Linked DNA regions of Homo sapiens: region 2 is linked to region 1. The links are contacts of gene promoters, found by promoter capture Hi-C in blood cells and fetal thymus (Javierre and others, 2016). All regions are on one chromosome and are shown on one strand. Each heading gives the region's core, a stretch centred on a gene start or on the middle of the fragment in contact. The rest is flanking DNA. Distances are from core to core; before and after follow the strand shown.

Evidence for each region. Contacts are between HindIII fragments. The CHiCAGO score rates a contact against its expected background, and 5 or more counts as called.
Region 2: a fragment that was not itself captured here is called in contact with the fragment with the promoter of STK32B in region 1 in 2 of 17 cell types (monocytes and M2 macrophages); the score reaches 6.7 in monocytes.

Annotation. Positions count from the first base shown.
Region 1 is chr4:5,049,516-5,053,875 of GRCh38, forward strand. STK32B (serine/threonine kinase 32B) reads left to right here and starts at 1,965. Exons shown (of 12, transcript NM_018401.3): 1 at 1,965-2,400. The coding sequence starts at 2,349. RefSeq lists an enhancer at 2,667-3,205. The HindIII fragment of the contact is 3,285 bases long and covers 1-3,177 here.
Region 2 is chr4:5,144,737-5,149,096 of GRCh38, forward strand. The region is part of intron 2 of STK32B (serine/threonine kinase 32B); the gene reads left to right. Among named protein-coding and RNA genes, the nearest start is that of STK32B, 95 kb to the left of the region's middle. The HindIII fragment of the contact is 2,933 bases long and covers 874-3,806 here.

The DNA.
Region 1 (4,360 bases), core at 715-3,214:
AAGTCAAAGGGGTTCTCTGGGAGGCAGGGGCGAGGGTCACAAGGTGCTCAGTCGGGAGCTTCTGAGCCAGGAGAAGGAATTTCACAAGGTAATGTCATCAGTTAAGGCAGGAACAGGCCATTTTCACTTCTTTTGTGATTCTTCAGTTGCTTCAGGCCATCTGGATGTATATGTGCAGGTCACAGGGGTTATGATGGCTTAGCTTGGGCTCAGAGGCCTGGCAATCACACCCAGCTAAGTTTTGTTTTTTTAGTACAGATGGGGTTTCTCCATATTGGCCAGGCTAGTCTCAAACTCTTGACTTCAGGTGATCCACCCGCCTCAGCCTCCCAAAGTGCTGGGATTACAGGTGTGAGCCCCCACGCCCGGCCTAGCACAATATCAATATATTCCTCATAACAATGTTAGAAAGGGAAAGTTCTCTTATTAGCACCTTCTGGACTCAGATGAAGAAACTGAGTCCAGAACAGGTTAAGTAATTTATCCAAGTTAACTGGCTAATGAGGGGCAAAGCAGAATGAAACCTGGGTAGAATGAGCCCAGAGCCCATGCCTGTCCACATTCCGCCCTATGCTTCTTGAGCTAGGGGCCAGCTCTGTGTTCAGGGCATTGCCTGCTGCACACTGGCTACTCAGTGTATGCTTGTTGGTGGAATGAAAGGCAAGAAATATTTATTCATCATTTATTATATGCCGGGCACTGTTGCCTGCTTTTATAAATATTACCTGATATAATTCTCACAGACAACCCAAGGAGTTAATATCAATCAGCCCACTTTGCAGATAAGAACTCCAAAGTGGGACACATTGCCAGTAAATGGTAGAGCCAGCTCTGGGTCATGGTGGGTGGGCCTGCCTCAGACCTTCTCAGTTCTTTCCCACTGCCTTTAAGAGATTTTTTGTTTTGTTTTGTTTTGTTTTGTTTCTGTATGAGTCTCCCCGGCTTCCCTCACCCTTCTCCCAAGAAAAAGAAAGAAGGGGAGAGAACTGGAGAGAGAGACCAGGTAGGGGACGGGGACTGGGGGACGAGATAGGATGGAGAGAGTCACAAAGAACCCCTGCTTTCTATCAAAGCACGGACAGTGGTTCCAGGCGCCCAGCAGATGGCAGGATGTAGCCAAAGATTCCCTGCAGTCCCGGAGAGCTGGGCCCGCAGGACTGCAAGGCAGGGGGACCTGCCTGTCCCTCAGGGAGCGTCCTGGGAACCCGCGCTCGCCCCACACGTCTTGGGGCGCATCTGCCGCACCCCTTACTTAGGCACCCGCAACTGTGGCGCGTATCTCCCGATCCAGGCTCCCGCCGCAGGAGCCCAGGGACCCTCATGCTAGCCTCGCCCCTAAATCGGACGCCGATGCCGCCCAATTTTGGGGGAATCCCGAGACTCATGCCCAGCCATTCCCAGGGAGAATGGTTTGGGGCAAACTATGGCTGTCTGGGGCCTCAGTTTCCCCATGTACAATGAAGGGGTCAGATTAGTATCTAATCTTAAGGGGTCAGAAAGTAAACAGATACTTTCATTCATTAAACACTGAGAAAAACCTTAAGAGGAACAGCGTCGGTTGGAGAGCCAGCAGACACTCCACTGCCCATCCCAATATGAATGGGCAAATACAGGCTAGCGGGGAGTCCTGGGACTCCCTTCGCAGCCGGGGCCGACTAACCACAGACCTAAGAGCCCCTCTACCTCTAGACCTCCGTCTACTGCGCTCTAAAATATGAACGATGCTTTCTTACTGCTGGGTTGTCGGAGGCGGATGTGGGATGGTGCTAACAAAGCGCGTAGCCGAGGCCTGGCCATAGTGGGTGCTGACAAACCGCTTACTGCCTGCAGGGACCGAGCTCCCGGCCGAGGGAGGAGGGCCGAGCAGGGATTCAGATTCTTCCGGGCCGATCCCTTTCTCAGCTCCTTCCGCCCTGCCGCCGCCCACTGCGTGCTGCCTTCGTCCGTCCCCTCCTCCCCCGCTCCTTCCCCTCCTTCCCCTGCTCCCGCGCCGCCTCGCGTCTCCCGCCCGCTGTAGCCGGCGAGGAGCGCCGCACGTTGGCCCCGGCGCGAGGAGCTCCCGGGTTCCCGGGCGGGCACTGGAGTAAGGAGCTGCGAGCGCAGCCCGAGGCGGGGCACGGCGGAAGGCGCGGCGAGAGCGGGGTCCCTGCGAGCGCAGTCGGAAGGGCGTCCAGGAGAAGGGGGACGCCGTCCCCGCCCCTGCACGGTGCTCGGCCCCCTCGGGCTCCGCGCGCGGCTACAACCCGGACTGGGCGCGCCCCCGGCATCCCGCATCTCTGCGCGCGTCCCACATCCCGCATCCGGCATCCCAGCGGCCGGGCATGTAGCAGCGGCAGCAACGGCGGAATATGGGCGGGAACCACTCCCACAAGCCCCCCGTGTTTGACGAGAATGAGGAAGGTAAGAGAGCGAGAGGTGCGAATTCCCGCTTCGCGGGGCATCCCCTTCCTCCACCACCCTCGGCCGAGCCCTGCGGGGCACCGCATGCTGCCCGGCGCGGGGACCCAGGCATGGCCACTTCGCCCAGCGAATGCAGTGTGTGCCCGACCCGTGCCAGGCGCGGCGCTTCTGCTGAGGCAACTCCTAGGTACCCAGTGCCGTTTAGTAGTCGGGACGGTGCCTAGCGCGGGACTGGGGAGGCGGCTTCAGAGAGTTGAACCCGAAACCTGCACTTGGGGGTGTGGAAGGGAGGAGTTGACTTCGGAGGCCAGTCGGGATGGTTCTAGGCTCGGGCTCCCCAGGAAACCGAGGTTTCCTTGAGAGCCTGAGGCTGACGGAGGTGGCCTGGAAGGGCGGGTTGCACCGTGTGTCTGTGTGTGTGTGCGCGTGCCCACGACGCATTTGGTCTCGTGCAAGGGCCTGTTGGATGCAGCTCTCCTCAATCACCCAGGACAGAGGGAAACTTTTCTTTGCTAAACTCTGTGGTTCCTAGGAGGGCGTCCTGTTCTGGGCAGCCTCCCCCTGGCGCAGAAGTGGTGTAGGCTGTCCAACCGCATCTCAACTTCCTGGCTGGATCCTTGCGGTTCAGGTCGATAGAGCTCCCTATTTGGACTAGCAGAACCCTCTTTCCAGTGCAGCGTGTCCCTGGAAAACTTACTTCACCTCTCTGAAACATTAGTCCCTTCATCAATGAAATGTGAGTTATGATACCACTAGCTACTTTATAGGGTTGTTTGAAGCTTAACCACTAGTAATCCACGTGAAAAGTGCCTTATAAATGCAAGCAGTACCGAGCTGTGCCGTTTTTTATGTTAAGAGCCCTCTGCCTCTCAAAGCTGGTTTCCTACTGTGCTGACTCGCCAGTCTCCACTGTGCCCCAGGTAAGAGCTGAGACATACTGAGCACTTACTATGTTCCAGCCATGCTAGCACATAGTGTTCACTCCATCCTTTTCATGCCCCTTGAGGTGGCTACCTTAGAAAGGGGTCTGTCCTGGTTACTGCTGGTAAGAAGTAGAGCTGGGCTTGAGGCAGGACAGTCTGCTTTGAAAGCTGTGCCTGTCATCATTACCCAGGGCACTGGCTGTGTGCGTACATCATGGATGGCTTCTAGAACTCCCAAGGCTGTGAGTGCTACTCAGATGCCTGCCTGGACAGCCCTTCTCAAAAAGATAGATGAACACAGTCAAGGTTAAGTGAGCACCTGCTGTGTCAGGCCCACGAGAGCCTTCCTTAAAGGAGTTCCTAGTCTAATGGCCCTGAATGACCGTCCATGGTGATAAGGGCATTGAGAAACCAGTGCAGGGTCTTGGGGGCACAGAGAGGCCCCAGCTTTTCCTGATCTTTAGTCTGGAGCATGTGCAGGTGAGCAGGTAAGGAGCCAGTTGTGGACAGAGGAGAGGTGGGCACAGAGGTAATGGAGGCTCTTGCATGTCCCAGTAAGAGTTTGAACACTATGCAGCATCACCCTCAATTGCACGGGCTTGTGGTTCTAGCCTGGGTCAAAGGTCATGCTTTTGCTAATTTTCCTAGCATCTTTCTCTTTTATTTACAGAGGAAATTTGCCACCCTTATATTGAAAACCGTCTCTGTCATTTATCCCCAGCTTGAAAATATTCATTGGCAAAATAGTTATCTCTGGTGTAGCCAACCTTTTGATTTTCCTGTTCCTGTTCCTTATTCTATAAGCAGATTGGGCCTAAGGTTAACTGCCTGTTTCGGTGCTTGTTAAAATACAAGGTTATGAGGCCGGGCGCGGTGGCTCATGCCTGTAATCCCAGTACTTTGGGAGGCCGAGGTGGACGGATCACCTGAGGTCAGGAGAGGCCTGCCTGGCCAACATGATGAAACCCCGACTCTACTAAAAATACAAAAATTAGCCGGGCATGTTGGCGGGAACCTGTAATCCCAGCTACTCAGGA
Region 2 (4,360 bases), core at 1,090-3,589, 96 kb after region 1:
ATATAAAATCAGGCAGCTTAGGTTCATTTGTTAATTCACTCATTCACTCATCCATCCATCCATCCATCCATCCATCCATCCATCCATCCATCCATCCAACATACGGAGGACCAATTTGCTCTGGGCCCTATTCTAGGTACTGAGGTTACAAAAGTAAACCAGATATGGTGCCTGCCTTTGAGGATCTCTCAGATACATGCAGGAGGCAGAGTAATAAACAGTCAACTATAGTCCACTCTGAAAAGCATGGTAGGGGAGGAACACTCATAGTTTATGGGTGTACAGGGATGGAGTGGAGGATGCCTAATTCAAACTTCAAAAGCTGTGATGCCCTTGCTGTCAAGGGCAGGGTTGACTGCATACCCATATGATTTTTTTCTCATTATTTTAGTATGAAAACATGCAAATACGCAGTGAAGGTGAAAGAATTTTACATTAAGCACCAATGTCTTCCACCTCCATTCCCAATTAACATTCTACCAAACTTATTTTATGAAATACCTATCCTTCTACCCACACATCAATCCATCTTATTTTTTGATGCATTTTATAGCAAATTGCAAATATTTGTACATTTCTCCTTAAATATTTCAGCCTAGAGATTTGCCTGTAGTTTTTCTTTTGATGTAAAATGTACATACAACAGAATGAACACATCTTAAACTTACATTTATTGACTTTTGAGAAATAAATGCATCTGAGTAACCTAAACCCATACCAAAATATAGAATATCACCATCCAAAAGTCCCCTCTTGACCCTTTACTGTCAAAACCTCTCTCAAAGTCAACTACTCCATCCATTATAGATTAGAGTTGCCTGTTCTAAAATTTAGTATAAAATGGGATCATGCAATATATAGTCTTTTGTTTAAAGCTTCATAATGTTTTACATTTTATATAAATTTTTCAGCATAATGTTTTTGAGATTCATTTGTATTGCATTTTTTGCTATTGTTTAAAAAATGGGTTGTTTGTCTTATTTAATTGTGGGATACATATCTGGATACCAGTCTTTTGTCAGACATGAGACTGTTTTCAACCAGACTGGTTTACCTGTTAATTTTATTAGTGGTGTGTTTTGATACATGAAAGTTTTCTATTTCGATAAGATCCAATTTGTTGAGTGCTTTTGCTTTTAGGGCCATTGTTTTATGCCATTTGTATAAGAAAACCTGGCTCACCAAAACATACTCAATTCACAGAGATATTTTTCTATGTTTACTTTCTAAAAGTTTTATAGAGTTAGCTTATAAATTTAGTTCTATACTTCATTTTGATTTGATTTTTTGTGTGGTGTGAGGTAGGGTCAAGTTGTTTTTTTTTTTTTCCCTAGTATGGACATCAGTTTCTTGAAAATGATTTCTTTTGTTTATTGGATTGTGTACGACGATTGTCTAGAGGGACAGAATTAATAGGATATATGTATATATGAAGGGGAGTTTATTAAGGAGAATTGCCTCACATGATCACAAGGTGAAGCCCCACCATAGGCCGTCTGAAAGTTAAGGAGCAAGGAAGACAGTAGTGGCTCAGTTCGAGTCCCAAAACCTCAAAACTAGGGAAACCGAAAATGCAGCCTTCAGTCTGTGACCGAAAGCCTGAGAGCCCCTGGCAAACCACTGGTGTAAGTCCAAGAATCCAAAAGCCGAAGAATTTGAAGTCTGATGTTGTAGGGCAGAAAGCATATCCAGCACAGGAGGAAGATGAAGGCTGGAAGAATCAGCAAGTCAGTTTCTTGCACCTTCTTCTGCCTGCTTTTTCTAGCTGGACTGGCAGCCGATTGGATGGTGCCTACCCGTGTTGCAGGTGGGTCTTCCTGAGGATGGGTCTTCTCTCCCAGTCCACTTAATCAAATGTCAGTCTCTTATGGCAACACCCTCACAGACATACCCAGATACATCCAGAACCAATACTTTGCATCCTTCAATCCAGTCAAGCTGACATTTAATATTAACCATCACAGATTGCTTTGGGGTTCATATGAAAAATTAGATGATTTGTATGTCTTCTTCTGTACTCTCGGTTTTGTACATTTGACCTATTTGTTGATCCTTATGCAAGTACTAGTCTGTCTTAATTACTGCAGGTTTCTGGTGTGTCTTAAAATCAGGTAGTATAAGTCCTCCACATTTATTCTTTTTCAAGATTGTTTTGGATATTCTAGATCATTGATTTTCATACAAATTTTGGAGTTGCTTATCAATTCTACAAAAAACTGTGGAATTACAATTGGTCAAATCTGTATATCAATTTGGAAATAATTATATCTTAAGAGTAGGGAGTCTTCTAATCCATGGACATGGTATATCTCTTTATTTATCTCTATTTTTATTAGGTATTTAAAAGTCTATTTTAGTGATGTTTTGTCATTTTTAGGGTAGAGGCTTTGCCCTTTTTTGCACTAATGTTTTTCCCAAATAGTTGATGAAGTTTTTTGGGGGTACGGGGGACAGGGGGAAGACACTATTGTAATGAAATTGTTTTTAATTTAGTTTTTAATTGTTTACTAGTAGGTATAAAAATACAATAAAATTTTTGTATCTTAATCTCACACCCTGAGACCTTGCTAATTAAATAATTAGTTGTGATAGTTGTTTTGTAGTATTCTGGAGATTTTCTGTCAACAATCATTCTATTTGCTAATAAAAGTAGTTTTACCTATTCTCCCCTTTATTTATGCTTTTTAAATCTTTATTGCAGTAGCTAAAACCCTCGGTACAATATTGAGGAGAAGTGGTGGGAGCAAGCATCATTGTTTTGTTCTTAATTTTAGGGGAAAAAGTGTTCAGTCTTTCTTCATTAAGAACATCTTTACCTGTAAGTTTTTCAGAGATGCTCTTTATCAAATTGAGCAGCTCCTTTTTAGTTGTAGTTTTCTGTAAGTGTTTATCATGTCTTGCTGAATTCTATCAAATACTTTTTGTGCATTGGTTGAAATGATCATATTTTTTCTCCATATTTTGTTACTATGCTAAATTACATTAATTTCCAAATTTTAAACCAACTGTGTATTACTGAGATAAATCCCACTTGAATATGATACCTTATTCTTTTTATGTTTTATTGAATTGGATTTGCCAATATCTTATTAGAGAATTTTACATCACATTCATAAGGAATATTAGTCTGCTTTTTTGTAATATCTTCATCAAATTTGTTTTCAGGGTTATAGTAGTCTCAAAAATGAGTTCAGTCATTTTCCTTCTCTGTTTTCTGAAAGCACTTGTGTAAAGTTGGTGTCACTTCTTTAAATGTTTGATAGGTTTTACAAATGAAGTTATCTGGGTATAGAGTTTTCTTTCTAGTAAGGCTTTTGACTACAAAATTACCTTCTTTAGTAGATATAAGGCACTCAGATTTTGTGTTTTTTCGTATATAACTTTTGGTAAGTTATATTTTTCAAGAAATTAATCAATTTTCTCTATGTTGGCAAATTTGTTGGCACAAAGTAATTCATGATATTATCATAGGATCTTCTTAATTTTTGTAGTGTCTGTGGTTGTAACTTCTCTTTCATTTCTGATATTAGCAGTTTGCCTTCTTTCTCTTATTTTCTTCATCAGTTTATAATCTTAGCTCTTCAAGATAGAACCTTAGGTCATTGATTTTAGACATTTTGTTCTAATATAAGCATTTTAAGCTATAAATTTTCCTCTAAGGACTGCTTAAGTTACACCCCCAAAATTTGATATGTTGTATTTTATTATTTAGTTAATAATATTTTATAATTCCCCTTGTGATTGCTTCTTTGACCCATGAATTATTTAGTTATGTGTTGTTTAACTTCCAAATATTTGGTCTTTGAAGCTTTTTTATTGTTATTGGTTCTAATTTTTTTCATTGTGGTCCAAGAACATACTCTACAATTTCAATTCATTTGTATTAATTGAGACTCATTTTATGCCCAACTTATGATCTACCTTAGTAAACACAGTATACCCACTTGAAAAGGATGTGTATTTAAAAGTTGTTAGGTGTAAGATTCAGTAAATATTAGTCCAGTCAAAGTAGTTAATATTATTCAGAGCTTCCGTGTCATTGCCGATTTTTAAAATCTAGTTGTTTTATTTCTGGACAGTTGTGTAAAATATCCAACTATGATTGTGGAATTATTTCTTCTTCCTTTAAGTCTGTCAATGTTTGCTTCTTATACGTTGAGATTTGTTGTTAGATGCATACATATTTATGATTATTTCCTTATGATGAATTGTCCCTACTATTATAAAATATCCTTCTCTTTTTCTTCTAGTACTCTTTATTTTGAAACTTATTTTCTTTGAGATCAGAGTACCCATTCTAATCTACTTATGCTTATTGCGTTCAGACATTTTTCTTCTTTATTTTCTTAAAACGCTGTGT